Regions from separate parts of the Homo sapiens genome. Here region 1 is linked to region 2. Evidence: promoter capture Hi-C in human tissues and cell types (Jung and others, 2019). All regions are on one chromosome and are shown on one strand. Each heading gives the region's core, a stretch centred on a gene start or on the middle of the fragment in contact. The rest is flanking DNA. Distances are from core to core; before and after follow the strand shown. Region 1 overlaps BPTF (bromodomain PHD finger transcription factor). Region 2 holds the start of HELZ (helicase with zinc finger).

What was found. The method cuts DNA at HindIII sites, captures the fragments that hold promoters and counts their contacts. A contact is called where the count stands out against the background at its distance.
Region 1: a fragment that was not itself captured here is called in contact with the fragment with the promoter of HELZ in region 2 in 1 of the 25 tissues and cell types used here (heart left ventricle).

What each region holds. Positions count from the first base shown.
Region 1 is chr17:67,845,969-67,850,500 of GRCh38, forward strand. All of the region lies in intron 1 of BPTF (bromodomain PHD finger transcription factor), which reads left to right. Among named protein-coding and RNA genes, the nearest start is that of BPTF, 23 kb to the left of the region's middle. The HindIII fragment of the contact is 3,640 bases long and covers 361-4,000 here.
Region 2 is chr17:67,242,835-67,247,046 of GRCh38, forward strand. It overlaps HELZ (helicase with zinc finger), which reads right to left and starts at 2,362. Exons shown (of 33, transcript NM_014877.4): 1 at 2,314-2,362; 2 at 950-1,005. HELZ-AS1 (HELZ antisense RNA 1) reads left to right here and starts at 1,942. Exons shown (of 4, transcript NR_136398.1): 1 at 1,942-2,374. RefSeq lists enhancers at 1,586-2,573, 2,574-3,560 and silencers at 1,890-1,939, 2,040-2,529, 3,080-3,169, 3,180-3,379. The HindIII fragment of the contact is 25,130 bases long and covers 1-4,212 here.

The sequences.
Region 1 (4,532 bases), core at 931-3,430, 600 kb after region 2:
AAAGGCTAAAAGACATTAAATGAGTTCTTAAACTTTTTCGAAGCCAAAATTTTTCTTTATCCTGTTTTGCTACTGAAGCAAAATTTTTTCTTGAATATAGGGTAACATTCACTAGTGGTTGATGAACCATTGTATTTAGTGGCAATCTTCTGTAAATAAATCTTTCAAATATAAAAGAAGTTATCCCATTAAAATAATTATAAAATAGTCCAAACATTCAGAAAAGTTTTAAAAATATAGGCTGGGCATGGTGGCTCACACCTGTAATTCCCACACTTTGGGAGGTTGAGGTAGGAGGATCACTTGGGCCCAGCAGTTTTAGAGCAGCCTGGGCAGCATAGAGGATACTGAATGTATTTTAGCTTTGTGTTGACAACCCAGTGGGTTATTTGAACTTCACTTATTGTGTGGTAGTCCCTAGATGTATCTCTAGACCAGGGCTGTCCAATAGAACTTTTTGTGATGATGGAAATATTCTGTATGTGTACTGTCCTGTATGGTAGCCACGAGACACATGGCTATTAAGTAAGCACCTGAAATTTTTGTTCAGGTCTCATACTTTATAACATTGTCACTTCACTGATTTGTCTCCTTTATCTGTCATTTCTCCCACCTGCACAATAGGCACTTGTTATTTCTCAAATTCCCTTTCACTGAGAGGTCAAGTCAGGTGGTTTTTAACAATATGGGAGGAAGTCTAATATAGTAGTAAAGACCATAGCTTAGGACTTGTGTGGGTTTGTTTGTTTGTTTGGAGACAGGGTCCCTGTCGCCTAGGGTGGAGTGCGGTGGTACAGTCTGGGCTCACTGCAACCTCTGCCCTTTGGGTTCAAGCAATTCTAGTGCCTCAGCTTCTGGAGTAGCTGGGATTACAGGCACACGTCACCACACCCAGCTAATTTTTGTTATTTTAGTAGAGACAGGGTTTCGCCATGTTGGCCAGGCTGGTCCTAAACTCCGGACCTCAAGTGATCCACCCGCCTTGGCCTCCCAAAGTGCTGGAATTACAGGCATGAGCCACCAAGCCCAGCTGGACTTGTGGGTTTGTTGTTGTTTTTTTGTTTTATTTGGGACCTGTGTTGGTTGTAACTCTTAGTGGTACTGGCTGTGACCTTGGACAAGTCATTTAGCCTCTCTATAAACATCTTTGAAAGGAAGTAATAATGGTATCTATTTTATGGAGTTGATCTGAGGATAAAAATAAGATAATGCACTTTAAAATGCTTACTTAGCACAATGTCTGGCAAATAGAAAGCACTCTCTAGGCCAGGCGTGTTAGCTCACACCTGTAATCCCAGCACTTTGGGAAGCCGAGGTGGGTGGATCACCTGAGGTCAGGAGTTCGAGACCAGCCTGGCCAACATGGTGAAACCCCATCTCTACTAAAAATAATAAATTAGCCGGGCGTGGTGGCACATGCCTGTAATTCCAGCTACTCGGGAGGCTGAGGCAGAAGAATAGCGTGAACCGGGGAGGCAGAGCTTGCAGTGAGCAGAGGTCGCGCCACTGCACTCCAGCGTGGGTGACAGGGTGAGACTCCGTCTAAAAAAAAAAAAAAATTATCCGGGTGTGGTGGTGGGCACCTGTAATCCCAGTTGTTTGGGAGTGAGGCAGGAGAATGGCTTGAACCCAGGAGGCAGAGCTTGCAGTGAGCCTAGATTGCGCCACTGCACTCCAGCCTGGGCGACAGAGCCAGACTCCGTCTCAAAAAAAAAAAAAAAAAGAAAAAAGAAAGCACTCTATAAAAGCTAGCTGCTGATTTTTATATTATTACTGACACAGAAGATAGGGATTGGGGGCAAATGGAATGTACTGGAAGAGCATAACCTTGTTCAGTAATAACGTTAATGCTAGATTGGGACACTATTCCACATGAAAAGGTGAATCCTTGTTACATTTGACAACTAAGTTTCATAATTTTTAAAAGATTTCAATGCATCACAGGTTATTTCTTCTTGATGTGCCATTCATGGTTTATATATATGTAACAGTAGATTAAATAATTAGATTTTATTAGTTCTGGAGTATTAACTTCGGCTGGAAATGAACTTCCCCCTTCTCTATACCAATACCGAGTGAGGCCACTTTCTCTCAGATACCAATCAGAAATAAGGGGACAATGTTACATTTTTTCCTTCTAGAAACACACATTATATAGAGAGTTGCCTTTTGAGGTCTAGAAGTCTGAAAACACTGTAAATTCTTTTTTTTTTTTGAATTAGTACAATAAATGTAGGGGTCAACTCTAAAAAATCGACAGTGGTTTCTGGGATTTGATCTTGGCATGACTTTACCCCTGCATCTCTGCCCTCGGCAGGTAGTTTTGTTTATGGGTGTCATTGGTTGAACAAATATTTTTTTAGTTGCTACAATAACTAAAACATGATCTGTCCTCTAAAGGAGTCAACAAATGAGCCAGGGGGCATGAGTAATTGCCTGTAATATAATTGTGCTCACGCTGTCATGGAGGACCGTACAAAGTGTCAGAAGCACAGCACCTGGAGGCACAGCAAAGGGTAGTAGAGGTGACATTTGAGCCCGGCCTTGAAAACTGTCTAGGGTTTCTCAGAATTTCAGCAAAGTAAGGCAATTTCTGTCTAAAATATGTAGGCAAACTTTTTTTTAAAATTAAAAATATGAGAAATTAATTAACAGATTATGACTACAGTGCGTATTTAAAAACCAAGGCATGATGAGTGCTGTTGACCAGTTCATCCGAACAGTTCAGAGAAGAGAACATCCATGTAGATCCCTTTTGTGTTACAGAATACAAAGGAGCAGAAAATTTTGTCTCAATAACTGCCAGGTCATTCTAATTAGAATACCTATACATTGTAACATAATTACTCCGTCGAGGTAATAAGCTATCAGGTGGTCCAGAGTTTGCCATTCAGTCAGGAAATTCACTCCCTTAACCTAGACTGTGCTGGAAATTCATTGACAAATTTTGTTCTTTGATTCTCCATTTTTCTTCAGAATTCATGCAGACCACTTGACTTCCTTAGCAGTTTCTTTTGTGGGCGTACATTAATGTCTTTGGTTAAGCTTCAGCTTCCCTTTGCATCAATCCTGTTGTAATCGTGCCTCCTGAGGCATCTTTTTGCTTCCCTTGCATGAGTTTCCAAAACCCTTTCTGCTTGGTAAGGGGAGTATCCATTTTCTTTAAAGTAGTGGTTTTCAAACTTGCCGCACATCAGAATCATTTGGGGAGAAGGATAAAAATATAGATTACTGAGCTTCACCTGGGGTTCTGTGAATTTGGGTTGCATTTGAGATTACTTTTAACAATTTACCAGATGATTTTTGCTGCACCTCCATTTCAGGGCAGCTTTTCAAACTTCAGTGACCATATAAATCACCTGAAGATCGTGAGAAACTGCAGATCCTAATTTAGTAGGCCTGGGCTTGGGCCTGAGATTCTGAATTTCTCTCAAACATGATAATGCCAGTCACTTGTCGAGTAGCAAGTTTTTTGTTTTTTATTTTTTGTTTGTTTTTCCAGTATTTTCATGACATTCAATGAATAGCAAGGTTTGAAGGTAACTTCTGGAATTTCATCTAATGTGTATTAATTTTTACTTATCTGGATCTTAGGGAAAATAACCTATCAGGATATAGGGAGGTGTTTCTCAGAGTATGGTTCGCCAGAACAGCACAACCTGGGAATTGTTAGAAATGCAAGTTCTCGGCTGGGCGTGGTGGCTCACACCTGTAATCCCATAACTTTGGGAGGCTAAGGCGGGTGGATCACTTGAGGTGAGGGGTTTGAGACCAGCCTGGCCAACATGGGGAAACCCCTTCTATACTAAAAATACAAAAAAAATTAGCCGGGCATGGTGGTGGGCACCTGTAGTCCCAGCTACTCGGGAGGCTGAGGCAGGAGAATCACTTGAACCTAGGTGACAGACGTTGCAGTGAGCTGAGATCGTGCCACTGCACTCCAGCCTGGGCAACAGAGCAAGACTCCATCTCAGAAAAAAAAAAATTCAGGTTCTCAGACTCTATTCTAGGCCTATTGAATCAGTGACATATGCACTCTGAAGTTTGAGAACCACTGTTTTAAGGCTTCTCACTGTAGTCCTGTATTTACTTACGTAGAAATCAAAACACATTTCTAATGTTGTCAGATAATGCAAGGATATCATTTTCTTGTGTAAGTGCATGGGCTAGCACTTTCAAAACTACTAATTCTTGTAATAAATGTTTATTTAATAGCTTATTATATGCTAGCCACTACTTAACATTGGCAAACTTAAAAAATCCCTGTCGTTAAGGAGATTATATTCTAGTGGTGATATTAACTACTAGTTCATGTATGTATTCATCCGTAAGTAGTATATAAACTGTATTTCCATGGTTTTATATTGTAAAACTTAACTTTTCTTTTGCCTCATGGTGTTTTTGTTTGTTTGTTTGTTTTCTGAGACAGAGTCTCGCTCTGTTGCCTAGGCTGGCAGTAGCATGATCTCGGCTCACTGCAACCTCCGTCTCCTGGGTTCAAGCGGTTCTTCTGCCTCAGCCTCCCAAGTAGC
Region 2 (4,212 bases), core at 1,112-3,611:
ATCTAGAAAAAAAAAAAAGGATAGCTTATTCTTCTTAAACAGATGTTGTGATAGACACGAAAAATTTGTGAGAGGATTTCAAAATCCAGAGGCCCAGATGTGTGGAGAAACAACAAAAAAAAAACTACAGTAACCAATCGACCACAATTACTTATTATTTTTCTAAAAAAAAACTTAGTAAAACATTTTAAGTTGAGAAAACTCGTGAAAAATGTAAAAGTAGCAAACTTCTCTTCCTCTCTATAGCACAGAAAACTATTCACTAACACTGTATCAATAATATCCTTTAAATCCAAAGCATTACAAATTAGATTAAATAAAGCACTTTGAATAAATTCACACACCGTGTGTGATCAGGACATAATGACAAACTAGTCTATTTCCTAATAAGCTAAACAGATCTCAACACTATCATCTTTATTTCAAAATAATTATTAAAGAGAAAAGTACTACTCCATTTTTCAGAAAATAAAAGCAGGAGTGATTGACCTGCCTAATTCTTTCTAACGGAAAGGGTATACTTTACGAGTCCCACAAACCAGGTACACACAAAATCCATATACATAATCACCGGGACTAAACGTACAGTAGGTGATAGACACCAAAACACAAATAAAATTAAGACATCCAAGTAAAGTTACGCAAGAAAATTTGAATAGGCAAACTATAATTATCCCTGGTGAAGATACTGATCAAGAATAGCTGCAAGTAACATTTGGCTCTTAGTTAAGTACCACTATGTTTGAGTATGTTGGAGCAACTGAAAAGATTGGTACATTCAACATATTTTTCCTTTCTAAATCTAGCCCTGCCCATAGACCCACTGACTGAGTGATACATTTGGAAAACAAAGATGGCCCCATCAAATTACTCAGTTTCAGCCTTACTCTTACCAGTTGATTAAAATAAAGAAGGAAAAAAAGGAAATCATTTTTAACTGCAGTCTCACCTTACACATCTCACCAGCACTGTAGTTCATTAGTGATCCATTACTTCATCCAAATCCTGAGGCAAATAGAAAAGATGTTTCCATACAACACCAGTAACAGACATTATCAGTAGCAAACATTTTATCAGCCTGAAGTGAAAGGGCATCTACATTTAAAATGGAAAAAGTTACAAAAATGGTACAGTGTGCAGCTTTGCAAATGAGTCTGGTTTTTGACCTTAAAACATTTCCTTTCAGTAAGGTAAAAGAATAGATTATACAATGCTCTTAAAACTCAAAAACATAATAAAATCATCTTTTTCAACACAGACTGACCTTACTTTCAAAAACATAAAGAAATGAAGGAGAGGAAATTTCATTAATATGAGTTTAAGAGAGAGCAAAATTAAGAACAAACTAGGCAAGACAGACAACTCCTCCCTCCTTCCCCCGCTCCAGGAATCCACTGTCTCTGAAGTTACACTTTTTATTATATTAATGATTTGCCTGAGAAGTGTTAAGTTGTGAGGGAGAAGGAATGACAATTTTTGAACTGCAAACAAAACCTGAGGATCCCGATCCAAGAACAATCAGAGGACCCTGGCTTCCAGCCCTGTCTGAAGATTTCTCAGCAAAGGCGAGGGTGCAGAAGGCTCCAATAATTTAGGGGAGAGGAATCGAAGTTCCCTAGGTAAGACTGCAGTCTGTGAGCCCTTGAAAAGGGTACTGGAGTACTCTCAAGGAATCTCCAGGAAAAGAGAGCCTATCTTTATTTTTGTTGATGTGCTTGTGGGCCAAAGAGCATTTCCGAGGAGGGGGCGGGGAAAGGGGGGAAGAAAGTGAATCTCGGGCCGAGAGCCCTCCGCGGGGGAGGGAGGGGGCGCACGCCTGACCCACTTTTCCCCACGCCCCCGCTCCAGCCCCCACCCCACCCGGTGGAAGTCCGAGGCCTGAGGGGGGGCATCGAGCGGGGCGTGGGAGGCCCGCACGCTCCCCACCCCCAGCCGCGACCCGGAGGAGGGGAACGTGCCGGGAGGCTCGAGTCCCCCTCCCAGAGTGCTCTGGGCCGGAGAAACCTCCCGCAGGCTCCCGGGCCAGGCGTGCAAGGCCCCCTCTCCTGCCAGGGCCCAGGACGCTGCGGGCCCCAGCGGAGGGGAAGGGGACTAAGTAGGGGAAGAAGCTGTAAACAGCCCCAGCGTCCGGGCCTCGCCTCGAAGAGCCGCGCTTCCCAGGCCCAGCCGCGGGCCGCCCAGGCCCCCAGCCTGCCCCGGGGCCGCCGCGCCCGGGGTCCGGGACACCGGAGGGGAGTCGGGTCCCCTCCCCGGAGAGCTCCGGGAGCTCGCGGAGCGGCCCCAGGAGCAGAGAAGGGGGAAGTCAGGACTTACCTGTCATTACTTTCTACGCCATCTTGGATCCACTTGTCAACGTCCCCACAAAGCATTATGGGTAAGAAAGAGCCTTTAAAGTGACTCCCCCCGGCCCCCGACTCCCGCCTCCCGCCGCCGGCGCCGCCCCCTCCGGCCGCGCCTCCCGCCCGGAAAGTTGCCCCGGGTGGACTGCCGACCCCGGCGCCCGCAGCTGGCCCCTTCCCCTCCCCCGGGCTGACGGCATTGAAAATTCACCCGCATTTTTAAAACGTGGCTTTGGGGTTTTCTCCCTTTCTCCTGCCCCGGCCTCCCTGCCCCCACGCCCGGTCCTCTCGCCTCGCCGCGTTCCTGCCCGGGCAGACGCCCCGCGTCTGCATTGAATCAACCCGAGGTTTCCTTGCCGCCCGCGGCGCGGCGCGGAGCTGCTCGCGGATTTATTTGTGCGCGTGGATGTGAGCGTTTCTGCTCCTGCGGCCGCGCTTCCAGGAAGCCCGCGAGCGGCCGGGGTCGCCTTCAGAGGCCGCGCAGACCAGCTCCGCACCCGCCGCCCGGAGAGGTGCCTCTGCCCTGGGAAACCGCCCCGGGGCCGTTGGGCTCCGGGAACTGGGAGGACGCCGTGTCCCCGAGTCCACCAGCGTCGAAGCACGATTTAAAAAAAAAAATTGAGCCAAATGCAACTTTTTACCCCTTGTTTACTCTGTGTCCCGCGGTCTCCTCCTCCGGGCGGGTAACGTGATCCGCGACCCTCTAGGTGGGGACCCCTCCCCTAGGAATGTGGCTCCAGGCTCCGCGGAGCCACCCTGGGAGCGTCCGGGCTGCGGACTGTGACTCCGGGGCAGGTAATCCGGGGCGCCGGCTGCGGGCTCCGGGCGGGGCGGGGCGCGGAGGCAGCCAGGGCTCGGGGGAGGGTCCCGGGCGGAAAGCAGGGTGCGCCAGTCCGGGTCCACCTGGCGGGTCGGGGGAGAACCGCGGGCGCCGCTGCAGCTCGGGAGGCTGGAGGTGGGGACGCCCGGCGTCTCCGGGCTGCGACCCGCTGCGCTGGAAAGTGTGGGGCGCCTTGGCGCGGGCTGAGGTCTCTGACCCGGGCGAGTACCCCCAGCCCGCCGGCCACACTGCTGCCGGGCATCCTCTCCCCGCGACACCACGCCCGCTTTCGGCTGCGCGGGGCGAGCAGCGTACTGACCCCGGCGTCCAGCCGCCCAGGTCCCCCCAGCAACGGAGGCCCCTTGGTCAGCCTCCTCCCGCGCTCTCCGCAGAGCCTCTGGTCCCTGCTTTGCTGTCTTTGGAGGCCTGCTCCAGTTGCTTTTTTTTTTTTCCAAGCAAGTTTTTACAACAAGGAGATACCCAAAAGAAAATTCTCCAAGACAGGAATGCTTGCGAATTGTATTCGGTACAAAATGCTGTTGAACGGCTCTACCTTTAGAAGACCGCAGAAGCACTGGCATTAAAACCCTCTTTCGGTGCACGGGGAGGGCCTGGGGCCTTGGATCTACCCGAGGATTTTACGCTCCTCCAGACCCTATCAACAGCCTCACTAGGAACGTGAACGGTGGCAGACAGGAGCCCTGCCCCTGGGGAGCCAAAAACTCCACCAGGCAATTGTCCCGGTCTGATGAGAAGGTGTAGACACATTAAGGGATTGGCCCCGGGTCACTCGTGAAGGAGGGAACGAGGTAGTGAGTCATTCCCAGCCAAGAACGCAGCGTGCTGGGGAGCAACCTCCCCTGAGTCACCTGCTTCTCACCTCGGAATAAGTGGAGAAACTGGAGCCTGGAGCCAGGTTCTTAGACGGCCCAGCAAGGTAGCCACCAAGGGCATGGGCTAGGCTGGGGGGAGGCAGCGCCCCTCCTGCTGGAAAAGGGAATGCTTGGCCCGTCTGAAGAAGGCTCCAATGTCTCTTTCCAGGGTACCCCAGGT